3 separate regions of the Homo sapiens genome follow, and regions 1 and 3 are each linked to region 2. Evidence: promoter capture Hi-C in human tissues and cell types (Jung and others, 2019). All regions are on one chromosome and are shown on one strand. Each heading gives the region's core, a stretch centred on a gene start or on the middle of the fragment in contact. The rest is flanking DNA. Distances are from core to core; before and after follow the strand shown.

The links. The method cuts DNA at HindIII sites, captures the fragments that hold promoters and counts their contacts. A contact is called where the count stands out against the background at its distance.
Region 1: a contact is called between a fragment that was not itself captured here and the fragment with the promoter of TMEM233 in region 2, in 2 of the 25 tissues and cell types used here (dorsolateral prefrontal cortex and spleen).
Region 3: a contact is called between a fragment that was not itself captured here and the fragment with the promoter of TMEM233 in region 2, in 1 of the 25 tissues and cell types used here (spleen).

The regions. Positions count from the first base shown.
Region 1 is chr12:119,535,567-119,539,486 of GRCh38, forward strand. The region is part of intron 13 of CCDC60 (coiled-coil domain containing 60); the gene reads left to right. The region is part of intron 2 of PRKAB1-AS1 (PRKAB1, TMEM233 and CCDC60 antisense RNA 1); the gene reads right to left. Among named protein-coding and RNA genes, the nearest start is that of TMEM233, 56 kb to the right of the region's middle. The HindIII fragment of the contact is 4,608 bases long and covers 166-3,920 here.
Region 2 is chr12:119,592,157-119,596,336 of GRCh38, forward strand. TMEM233 (transmembrane protein 233) reads left to right here and starts at 1,618. Exons shown (of 3, transcript NM_001136534.3): 1 at 1,618-1,878. The coding sequence starts at 1,693. The region is part of intron 1 of PRKAB1-AS1 (PRKAB1, TMEM233 and CCDC60 antisense RNA 1); the gene reads right to left. RefSeq lists an enhancer at 1,606-2,179. The HindIII fragment of the contact is 2,865 bases long and covers 880-3,744 here.
Region 3 is chr12:119,554,401-119,558,645 of GRCh38, forward strand. The region is part of intron 1 of PRKAB1-AS1 (PRKAB1, TMEM233 and CCDC60 antisense RNA 1); the gene reads right to left. Among named protein-coding and RNA genes, the nearest start is that of TMEM233, 37 kb to the right of the region's middle. The HindIII fragment of the contact is 3,709 bases long and covers 1-3,380 here.

The sequences.
Region 1 (3,920 bases), core at 1,220-3,719, 56 kb before region 2:
CCTCTACACACTGCTTTAAGTGTGTCCCAGAGATTCAGGCACCTTGTGTCTTTGTTTTCATTGGTTTCAAAGAACATCTTTATTTCTGCCTTCATTTCGTTATGTACCCAGTAGTCATTCAGGAGCAGGATGTTCAGTTTCCATGTAGTTGTGCAGTTTTGAGTGAGTTTCTTAATCCTGAATTCTAATTTGATTGCACTGTGGTCTGAGAGACAGTTTGTTATAATTTCTGCTCTTTTACATTTGCTGAGGAGTGCTTTCCTTCCAACTATGTGGTCAGTTTTGGAATAAGTGCGATGTGGTGCTAAGAAGAATGTCTATTCTGTTGATTTGGGGTGGAGAGTTCTGTAGATGTCTATTAGGTCTGCTTGGTGCAGAGCTGAGTTCAAGTCCTGGATATCCTTGTTAAACTTCTGTCTCCTTGATCTGTCTAATATTGACAGTGGGGTGTTAAAGTCTCCCATTATTATTGTGTAGGAGTCTAAGTCTCTTTGTAGGTCTCTAAGGCCTTGCTTTTTGAATCTGGGTGCTCCTGTATTTGGTGCATCTATATTTAGGATAGTTAGCTCTTCCTGTTGAATTGATCCCTTTACCATTATGTAATGGCCTTCTTTGTCTCTTTTGATCTTTGTTGATTTGAAGTCTGTTTTATCAGAGACTAGAATTGCAACCCCTCCATTTTTTGCTTTCCATTTGCTTGGTACATCTTCCTCCATCCCTTTATTTTGAGCCTATGTGTGTCTCTGCACGTGAGATGGGTCTACTGAATACAGCATAGTGATGGATCTTGACTCTTCATCCAATTTGCCAGTCTGTGTCTTTTAATTGGGGTATTTAGCCCATTTACGTTTAAGGTTAATATTGCTATGTGTGAATTTGATCCCGTCATTATGATGTTAGCTGGTTATTTTGCCCATTAGCTGATGCAGTTTCTTCCTAGCATCGATGGTCTTTACAATTTGGCATGTTTTTGCAGTGGCTGGTACCGGTTGTTCCTTTTTATGTTTAGTGCTTCCTTCAGGCACTGTTGTAAGGCAGGCCTGGTGGTGACAAAAATCTCTCACCATTTGCTTGTCTGTAAAGGATTTTATTTCTCCTTCACTTATGAAGCTTAGTTTGGCTGGATATGAAATTCTGGGTTGAAAATCCTTTTCTTTAAGAATGCTGAATATTGGCCCTTACTCTCTTCTGGCTTGTAGAGTTTCTGCTGAGAGATCCACTGTTAGTCTGATGGGCTTCCTTTGTGGGTAACCTGAACTTTCTGACTGCCCTTAACATTTTTTCCTTCATTTCAACCTTGGTAAATCTGACAATTATGTGTCTTGGGCTTGCTCTTCTCAAGGAGTATCTTTGTGGTGTTCTCTGTATTTTGTGAATTTGAATGTTGGCCTGCCTTGCTCGGTTGGGGAAGTTCTCCTGGATAATATCCTGCAGAATATTTTCCAACTTGGTTCCATTCTCCCCATCACTTTCAGGTACACCAATCAAACATAGTTTTGGTCTTTTCACATAGTCCCATATGTCTTGGAGGCTTTGTTCATTTCTTTTTACTCTTTTCTCTAAACTTCTCTTCTCACTTTATTTCATTAATTTGATCTTCAACCACTGATACCCTTTCTTCCACTAGATTGAATCGGCTACTGAAGCTTGTGAATTCTTCACGTAGTTCTTGTGCCTTGGTTTTCAGCTCCATCAGGTCATTTAAGGTCTTCTCTTCACTGTTTATTCTAGTTCGCCATTCGTCTAATCTTTTTTCAAGGTTTTTAGCTTCCTTGCAATGGGTTCAAACATCCTCCTTTAGCTTGGAGAAGTTTGTTATTACCGACCTTCTGAAGCCTACTTCTGTCAGCTCGTCAAAGTCATTCTCCATCCCGCTTTGTTCCATTGCTGGCAAGGAGTTGCGATCCTTTGGAGGAGAAGAGGTGCTCCAGTTTTTAGAATTTTCAGCTTTTCTGCTCTGGTTTCTCCCCACCTTTGTGGTTTTATCTACCTTTGGTCTTTGTTGGTGGTGACCTACAGATGGGGTTTTGGTGTGGATGTCCTTTTTGTTGATGTTGATGCTATTCCTTTCTGTTTGTTAGTTTTCCGTCTCACAGTCAGGTCTCTCAGCTGCAGGTCTGTTGGAGTTTGCTGGAGGTCCACTCCAGACCCTGTTTGCCTGGGTATCACCAGCGGAGGCTGTAGAACAGCAAATATTGCTGCTAGATCCTTCCTCTGGAAGCTTCGTCCCAAAGGGGCGCCCGCCTGTATGAGGTGTCAGTTGGCCCCTACTGGGAGGTGTCTCCCAGTGAAGCTACATGGGGGTCAGGGACCCACTTGAGGAGGCAGTCTGTCTGTTCTCAGAGCTCAAACATCATGCTGGGAGAACCAGTACTCTCTTCAGAGCTGTCAGACAGGGACGTTTAAGTCTGCAGAAGTATCTGCTGCCTTTTGTTCAGCTATGCCCTGCCCCCAGAGGTGGAATCTACAGAGGCAACAGGCCTTGCTGAGCTGTGGTGGACTCCACCCAGTTCGAGCTTCCACGGCCACTTTGTTTACCTACTCAAGCCTCAGCAATGGCGGATGCCCCTCCCCCTGCCAGGCTGCTGCCTCACAGGTTGATCTCAGACTGCTGCACTAGCAGTGAGCAATGCTCCATGGGCATGGGACCTGCCGAGCCAGGCGCATATAATTTCCTGGTGTGCCATTTCCTAAGACCATTGGAAAAGCACAGTATTTGGGCAGAAGTGTCCTGATTTTCCAGGTACAGTCTGTCCCGGCTTCCCTTGGCTAGGAAAGGGAAAACCCCCAACCCCTTGCACTTCCTGGGTGAGGCGATACCCTGCCCTGTTTCGGCTTGCCCTCCATGGGCTGCACCCACTTTCCAACCAGTCCCAATGAGATGAACCAGGTACCTCAGTTGGAAATGCAGAAATCACCTGTCTTCTGCATCGATCATGCTGGGAGCTGCAGACTGGAGCTGTTCCTATTCGGCCATCTTGGAACAGACTCCTAAACTGGTTATTCTAGTTAGCAATTCCTCTAACCTTTTTTAGAGGTTCTTGGCTTCCTTGCATTGGGTTAGAACATGCTCCTTTAGCTCAGAGGAGTTTGTTATCATCCATCTTCTGAAGCCTACTTCTGTCAATTTGTCAAACTCATTCTCTGCCCAGTTTTGTTCCCTTGCTGGTGAGGAACTGTGATCCTTTGGAGGAGAAGAAGCGTTCTGGTTTTGGGAATTTTCAGCCTTTTTGTGCTGGTTTTTCCTCATCTTCATGGATTTATCTACTTTTGGTCTCTGATGTTGGTGACCATCACATGGGGTTTTTGTGTGGATGTGCTTTTTGTTGATGTTGATGCTATTCCTTTCTGTTTGTTAGTTTTCCTTCTAACAGTCAGCCCCCTCTGCTTCAGGTCTGCTGGAGTTTGCTGGAGGTCCACTCCAGACCCTGTTTTCCTGGGTATCACCAGTGGAGGCTGCAGAACAGCAAAGATTGCTGCCTGTTCCTTCCTCTGGAAGCTTCATCTCAGAGGGGCACCAGCCTGATGCCAGCCAGAGCTCTCCCATATGAGGTGTCTGTCAACCCCTCCTGGGAGGTGTCTCCCAGTCAGGAGACATGGCGGTCAGGGACCCACTTGAGGCAGTCTGTCCTTTAGCAGAGCTTGAGCGCTGTGCTGGGAGATCCACTGCTCTCTTCAGAGCCGGCAGGCAGGAATGTTTAAGTCTGCTGAAGCTGCACCCACAACCGCCCCTTCTCCCAGGTGCTCTGTCCCAGGGAGATGGGAGTTTTATCTATAAGTCCCTGACTGGGGCTGCTGCCTTTCTTTCAGAGATGCCCTGCCCAGAAAGGAGGAATCTAGAGAGGCAGTTTGGCTACAGTGGCTTTGCTGTGGGCTCTGCCCAGTTTGAACTTTCTGGTGGCTTTGTTTACACTGTGAGG
Region 2 (4,180 bases), core at 368-2,867:
GGAAAAACAGCCGAGGCAGAGGGAACAGCCAATGCAAAGACTTGGTTGAGAATTCAGTAGATGAATCTAATCTTTTAGTTACTCCCATTTTATTAATCCATCAAAATGAGAAAGAAGGCATGGCGGAGAATGTACTATTTCATCTTTGTGTGTTCACCCAGCAAGCTATACTAAGCACCTCCCTTGTACCAGGAACTGTGCCAGATGCTGACACAAAGATGAGCCAGATGACCCCTTCTCTCGGGGAGTGTGCAGTCCAATGAGGGAGGCAGATAACAAAATAAGTATGGCTCATGAGATAAGTGAGAATCTCCCAGGCAATCAGCTTATATTCTGAGAAAGCCAAGAAGATGATTAATAGTTTCAAGTATGATGATGTGAGCAATTGCTTTTGACACTGCATGATCAAATTATTTTCATTTCTTTGTGGTCCTGCAGCTCAGAATACCTGGATTTTTGGTGAAATATTAGCAAGGGATATCAAGTTTAGGATACTGTATAATGCACTATATGTTTCAGAATATAAGGAGAAATAGTATGCTAATAATAGCTAATATTTATTGAGCACATGGATTGACCTGGATAATGTACCATCTCATAGAAGAGTCACTACGACTTTATGAGGCAGGGACTATTATTTCCCCTTTTTCAGATGGAGAAATAGGGGCTTAGCAAGATGAAGGGGCTTTCCTGAAGTGACAATTTCCTAGTTCTGTCTGGATTCAAGCTTCAGTTCTGGTCCATACGGCCCTCTCATGAATAGCTTAGACACTGATACAATTGCTTTTCTCACACTAGTCCCCAAAGTGGATACCTTGTTCTTCTTCCCAGCCCACTCATCCATCTAGGTTGCCTAGGCCAGCCTGATCTACCTGCATTTCTCCCCAGGGGTCCTGCAGGTGGAAAAGTGGAAAGAAGAATTCCTTGTTTCCACACTGGGGAGGGCACCTGGACGGGCATGGACCGGGCAGTGCCCACTGACTGACTATACTGGACTCCAGTCTCTTGAGCCCCAAGTAGAATGTGGAAAGCTTTGAGGCCAAAGCTGGGCACCTGGTTCCCACCCCACCTGGGGGAGGGGGTCGGGGGGAGGAGAAATTCCTGGGGCTCAGTGTTCAAGGTCTGAGGCACAGGAGACAAATCAAATGCCCAGGCACCAGACAGTTAAGGTAAAACGTTGAAGTCAAGAGGAAGTAGTGAGTCTGTTGCCAACTGGATAGGGTTGGTCCTGTCCCATCTAAATGTATTAGAATTAAGTGGCTTTTAAAAATGAGCTGGTCATCTTCAGCCCACGGGCTGGCCAATTTGGAACTTAATGGGCCTTTGCGTCCTCCTTCCCTGAGCCTCCTTTTATTCCAGACTTCTCAGTGTGAGTCTGTGCGTCCCTCCGACGATCTCAGGGAGTGGGGTGCCTTCATCTGCCTGTTCCCTGTTCCTCAGGCTGACGCTCCCGCTGTCCTCCCCGCCTCCCCTCACTCCTTTTCTCCCTCCCTTCCTCCTTGTGGGGAGGCTCTTGGCCAGGGTCCCTGAGCCCGGGCGGGTGCTGGCAGAGGACGCAGAAGGGGTGAGGTCACGTCTCCCTTGAGCCCCGAGCCGCTGGCTTTTCAGAGCCTCGCCACAAGCCGGCGGCCAGAGCCCCAGACCACACAGACCGTGCGCTCCTCCGCCCTCCCGGCGCCGCCGGCCTCGCCCATGTCTCAGTACGCCCCTAGCCCGGACTTCAAGAGGGCTTTGGACAGCAGTCCCGAGGCCAACACTGAAGATGACAAGACCGAGGAGGACGTGCCCATGCCCAAGAACTACCTGTGGCTCACCATCGTCTCGTGTTTTTGCCCTGCGTACCCCATCAACATCGTGGCTTTGGTCTTTTCCATCATGGTGAGTGAATCACGGCCAGAGGCAGCCTGGGAGGAGAGACCCGGGCGGCTTTGAGCCCCTGCAGGGGAGTCCGCGCGCTCTCTGCGGCTCCCTTCCTCACGGCCCGGCCCGCGCTAGGTGTTCTTTGTCCTCGCACCTCCTCCTCACCTTTCTCGGGCTCTCAGAGCTCTCCCCGCAATCATCAGCACCTCCTCTGCACTCCTCGTGGTACTCAGAGCCCTGATCAAGCTTCCCCCAGGCTAGCTTTCCTCTTCTTTCCAGCTCCCAGGGTGCGTTTCCTCTCCAACCCGGGGAAGTTCTTCCGTGGACTTTGCTGACTCCTCTGACCTTCCTAGGCACTTGCCCGGGGCTTCTCAACCCTCTTTTCTAGAGCCCCAGTGCGCGCCACCCTAGCGAGCGCAGTAAGCTCATACCCCGAGCATGCAGGCTCTACGTTCCTTTCCCTGCCGCTCCGGGGGCTCCTGCTCTCCAGCGCCCAGGACTGTCTCTATCTCAGCCTGTGCTCCCTTCTCTCTTTGCTGCGCCCAAGGGCACCGCTTCCGCCACTCTCCGGGGGGTCCCCAGGCGATTCCTGATGCCCCCTCCTTGATCCCGTTTCCGCGCTTTGGCACGGCACGCTCTGTCCAGGCAACAGTTTCCTCTCGCTTCTTCCTACACCCAACTTCCTCTCCTTGCCTCCCTCCGGCGCCCCCTTTTTAACGCGCCCGAGGCTGGCTCACACCCACTACCTCTTTAGGCCTTTCTTAGGCTCCCCGTGTGCCCCCCTCACCAGCAAAGTGGGTGCGCCTCTCTTACTCTTTCTACCCAGCGCGTCGTAGTTCCTCCCCGTTTGCTGCGCACTGGCCCTAACCTCTCTTCTCTTGGTGTCCCCCAGAGCTCCCAGGCGCCCCTCCACCGCTCTGTCCTGCGCCCGGGGCTCTCCCGGGAATGAACTAGGGGATTCCACGCAACGTGCGGCTCCGCCCGCCCTCTGCGCTCAGACCTCCCGAGCTGCCCGCCTCTCTAGGAGTGGCCGCTGGGGCCTCTAGTCCGCCCTTCCGGAGCTCAGCTCCCTAGCCCTCTTCAACCCTGGTAGGAACACCCGAGCGAACCCCACCAGGAGGGCGACGAGCGCCTGCTAGGCCCTCGCCTTATTGACTGCAGCAGCTGGCCCGGGGGTGGCGGCGGGGTGAGGTTCGTACCGGCACTGTCCCGGGACAACCCTTGCAGTTGCGCTCCCTCCCCCACCGGCTCACCTCGCCTGCAGCTGGGCCACGGAACTCCCCGGCCACAGACGCAGAGCCCTGATTCAGCGCTGTGAAAATCGCTAGCCACCCGTCCCCCATCAAGTCCGCCCACACTTGCCCACGGGTGGTGGCACCATATTCGATTCGTGGGCACCTGCAAGGCTCCATTTGCACCCGTAACTTGCCCTTTCCCAAACCCGGTTTGTGGACAGCGTCTGCACCGATATGAAAGCGTGCAGCCGCTGAAGTTCAGACAAGTCTGTATTCAAATCCCAATTCTCCCACTTTCTAGCTGTGTGATCTCTGAAGTCACTGCATCTCTGAACCTCAGTCTCTTTGTAAAACCAGAATAATCATAGCCATGTTTCTTGGGGTTGTTGGGAGCATTCATGACATAAATAATTGTAAAGTGCTTAGAACAGTGACCAGCACGGTATCTTTACAAAATCTTTACTCAAATGTCACTTCATGAGGCCTTCTGTGATTACTGTTTAAAATCAGGACCCCCATCCACCCACCCCGCGCAAGCTCTGTTCTTCCTTCCCTGCTACCTTTTGACCAAATTACTTCTCTCCATCTGATATAGTATTTTAATTATTTGTATGTTTACAGTCTGTGTCCCTCTCATTAGAATATAAGCTCCATAAGGGCAGGAATATTTGTTGGTTCCTGTATCTTCAGCATCTAGAAGAAAATGTGGCACGTGGTAGATGCTTAATAAGTATCATGAAATGAATGCATGCATGAATGAATGGTGTGGATGAATCATTAACCTTTTTTTCCCATCCTGGAGGCCCGGAAGCCGTCGCATCCGGTTCCTTCCGACCAACCAGCCAATTTCCTCCCTTCCTTCCTCTCCCCATATATCCGGTCTTGACTTTTTTTGCCGAGAGTCTGGAAACAATGCTGCAGCCAAATTCTCCAGGCAGCAGCAGACTGTCTGGCTGGCACTGGTGCCCACATTCTATCCTGCTTTATTAATGAAGCAGCCAATTCACTCCTTTCCCAGTGCCACTTAGAAAACTGCCTGCAAAGGCTTTTTCCCTCATTGGTCTGAAATGAGCTGGCACTCCAGA
Region 3 (4,245 bases), core at 276-2,775, 38 kb before region 2:
TGCTATGTAACTAAAAATAAAATCTTAAGCCCCCTGCCCCACTGACAGAACAGACCCCCTCTTGGCCAAAGAGACCCCCAGAAAAACCTTAAAAACTGAGTTCACGACAATGACAAGAACCGGAGGTCCAACACACCTCGTTATACCCCCTCTTTTGTGTAGTTTACAGACAACTGACCAGCGTTAATGTTAAAATAGAGATCACAAGACCGACAAAATGAACTCTTCGTAGTAATAAGATACCAAGTTATAAACAGGGCCTAAGGCCATGCCAGGAAAGGGTTAAGTCACACACTCCTTCACTTAAAGAATAAACTATATTCTAACTGCCACAAGGTTTTTCTTTTTCTCTAGCAGCTAAACAAGTGCTGGCCTTGAGATAAGCAGTGTTAAAACAACTGCAACGAACCAACCACCAGACACTGACTAACTGATCCTCCCCCGCACCGTTCCCTTTCCACCAGCCATAACTACAGCTTTGATTAGGCAAGAAATTGATTTCAATAACTTTCTCCTAATAAAAAAGACCACTGACCATGGACTGATTCTGGCCAGTTTACAGAGGCTGTGCACATGAGTGCCTTCGTTCTAAAAAGACCTTTTGACATATAGGATCTAATTATAATACATTTAAATATCAAGCCCCACCCCAAGGTGGGGTGATATGTCACATGTCACATGCATATTTGTTCAATACACGTGTCATAACTACCTTCATAAATATTCATAACTCCTCTCGTAACCTGTTGAATACGCATACTTGGCCACCCCAGTGAGCTAAAATTCCTGTCCAACCCCTCCTCCTCCTGGCCAGGCCCAGTGGCTCACGCCTGTAATCCCAGCACTTTGGGAGGCCAAGGTGGGCAGATCATGAGGTCAGGAGATCGAGGCTATCCTGGCCAACAAGGTGAAACCCCGTCTCTACTAAAAATACAAAAATTAGCCAGGCGTGGTGGCGGGCACCTGTAGTCCCAGCTATTAGGGAGGCTGAGGCAGGAGAATGGCATGAACCCGGGAGGTGAAGCTTGCAGTGAGCCGAGATCACGCCACTGCACTTCAGCCTGGGCAACAAAGCGAGACTCCATCTCAAAAAAAAAAAAAAAAAAAAAAAAAAAACCAACCCCACCTCCTTCAAAATGCCTGCTAATGACTTTGGCCAGAAGTATGGTTCCCAGCCTGTGGGATGGCCACCTTGTAGACTGTAACCCTTTTTAAAAAAATAAAGTCTCTTTATCTAAATGCATGGATTTTGTGATTTTTCAACAACTATAAGTATAAAATACACACGGGACTTTGAACACTGAGTATGAAAAAAGGAATGTAGACTATCTCGTTAATATTGTTTAATATTGATTATGTGTCAAAAGGATATTTGGAATATATTGGGTTAAATAAAATATGGTATTAAAATTAATTTATCCTGCTTTTTACTTGTTTAATGTGGCCAGTGGAAAATTTAAAATTACATATGTGGCTTGCATTATAATTCCATTGGACAGAGCTGAGTTAGAGAGCCTGAGACTCAAGAAAGAAGACCAATGAGGAGACTTCGAAATGTCCAGGAGACATTATGAGAGCATGGGAGTTTGAACCAGACAGTGGGATGGGGACAGAGAATAAGAATAAGAATACGCAAACTTCTCAATGACAGATTGGATAAAGAAAATGTGGTACATATACACCACAGCATACTATGCAGTCATAAAAAAGAATGAGATTATGTCTTTTGCAGGAACATAGATGGAGCTGGAGGCCCATTATCCTTGGCAAACTAACACAGAAACAGAAAACCAAATACTGCATGTTCTCACTGATAAGTGGGAGCTGAATGACGAGAACTCGTAGACACAAAGAAGAGAACCACAGACACTGGAGCCTACCTGAGGATGGAGGGTGGGAGGAGGGAGAGGAGCAGAAAAAATAACTATTGGGTACTTAATACCTGGGTGATGAAATAACCTGTACCACAAACCCCCGAGACACAAGTTTACCTATTAATGTACAACAAACCTGCACATGTACCCCTGAACCTAAAATAAAAATTAAAAAAAAAAATTTGGGAAATAGTAGGAAAAAAATTAAAACCAGAAGACTACATATAATAGCATGATCTCATTTTTATAAAACAAGAATAAGCAAGAGTAAAACACATGCTGTGTAGGTATGACTTTATATATGCAAAGCAGTGATACACTCCCAAACTCAGGATAACAATGACCTCTGTGGAGGGGACCTGGGGCCCTGGACTGGGAAAGAGCATCAGGTGTATGCCTTATTGGCAATGCCCTAGTTCTTTGGTTGACGGGGCCACAGATTTTCATTATACAATTAATCTGTATAACGTAAACACATGTGGTGTGTGTGTGTGTGTGTGTAAACAAATACTTTTAAGATAAATTTTTTCAAATAAAAAGAATATGCGGGCCTCTGGTTACAGGTTTTGGTGATTAAAGGCATGAATTCTGGGACCATACAGCCTGGTTCAACACTTGGCTCTGACATCTGTCAGCTGTGTGACCTTGGGCAAGTCACTTACTTAATCTGTCTCTTGTGCCTGAGTTTCCTCACTTATGCAACATGAGTAGTAGCAGCACCTGTTTTATAAGGTGTTATGAAGATTAAATGAGTTCATTCCCTGATTCTCACAGTTGACTACATATGTGAGTCACCTGGGGAGTGTTTAAAACTCAAATTAGGGGAGCCTGATTTCATTGGTGTAGGGTGTGGCCTAAGCATAGGGACTATTTTAAATTACCCACGTGATTCTAATGTGCAGGAGAGTTCATGAACCACTGTATTAGTATATGTAGATGCTTGAAAGAGTGTCTGACACAGTGTAACCATGATTTAAGTATTTGAAGTTATTATATTTTTAGTGTCTTTAAAATGCATAATATATTTAAAATCCACAATTGAGAGTCTACTATGTGCCACTAAATGCCACTGCAGGGACGGAATATTTCTTAAATGAATTCACAGAGCTCACAGGAAAGGTTTCAACACGTCCTCTCCAGTGAGCACAGGTGGGCCAATTGGAGATCAAGTTCAGATCTGGCAGCTCATTCAGCAATTCCAACTTTTTGAAGTCTCGGTTGGTGAAATATTACAGACCATTTCCCAAAACACTTAACTCCAACAACAAGGTTTTAGTGTTTGGCAACATACAAGCAGAATGCCATTAAGTCTTGGAACTGTGTACTGAGTGTCTATCAGCTGGAGCCAAAGGGGAATGTAGTGAAGTGAGGCTCCTTTCAGAGTATGGAACAAGCCCATCTGTGTCTCAGACCCCCATAGTGGAAACACCTTAATGAGAACTGGCTAACGGTGGTGAGAACTCCTTGTCATCAATGAAGGAGGCATGTCTGGGCCTTACAAGGACATTAAGCAAAGAGGTACTAAAGTCATGAAAAAAAAAATGGCCCTTCTGTCTTGGATAGAGCCTAAAGAAAAATCAGAGCCATCTCTATTCTTATTTGATAGACTTATGTTCTCATTCACATCGTCTCCAGGCTCTATGAATGCTAATTCCAATAGTAATCATTGTTAACATTTATTGGGTGTGTGTTATGTGCCAGGAACCATCATAAGCATTTTATATGCATCAAATTTTTAAAATATGAGGAAGGGGTCATTATCAATACTTTATAATGAGGAAACTGAGGCTCAGAGAGGTGCAGCAATTTGGTTGCAAGTGACAGAGTCTAAACTCAAACTAACTTAGACTAAAGGGGAATTTGTTGCCTTGAGGAATACAATGAAGTGTTGAAACATCAAGCTCTGAAAGGGATAAAGATACAGATGGATCTTTGATGCAACTGGAACCAGGGTTTTTTTTCTCTCTGCTCCTCTCTTCTTCCCTCTGTGCATCAGCCACATCCTGCTGCATGCCAGCTTCTAACACACGTGGCAATGTGGCTTCTCAACTCCCCAGGCTCTCCTCTCTGTTCTGGTTTCAAAAATCCTAGGGCAAAGCTCTGATTGGTCCATCTTGGGTCAGGTGTTCACCTTGAACCAATCAACAGCAACCAAGAGAGCAAGATCATGTGAAAACATGGCAGTTCACTCAAATCACATGGGTTGGAGTCAGGGAAGAAGAAAGAAAATGATTTCCCAAAAAGAAGAATGATATATGTTCCCAGAAGAAAGAGAAAACTACCTATGATAGTCCACTACTTCCAAGAATGAGTGCCAACAAGACTATTAAGTAGGGAGGAAAACTGACTCCTCCTTAAGGTTACACACTCT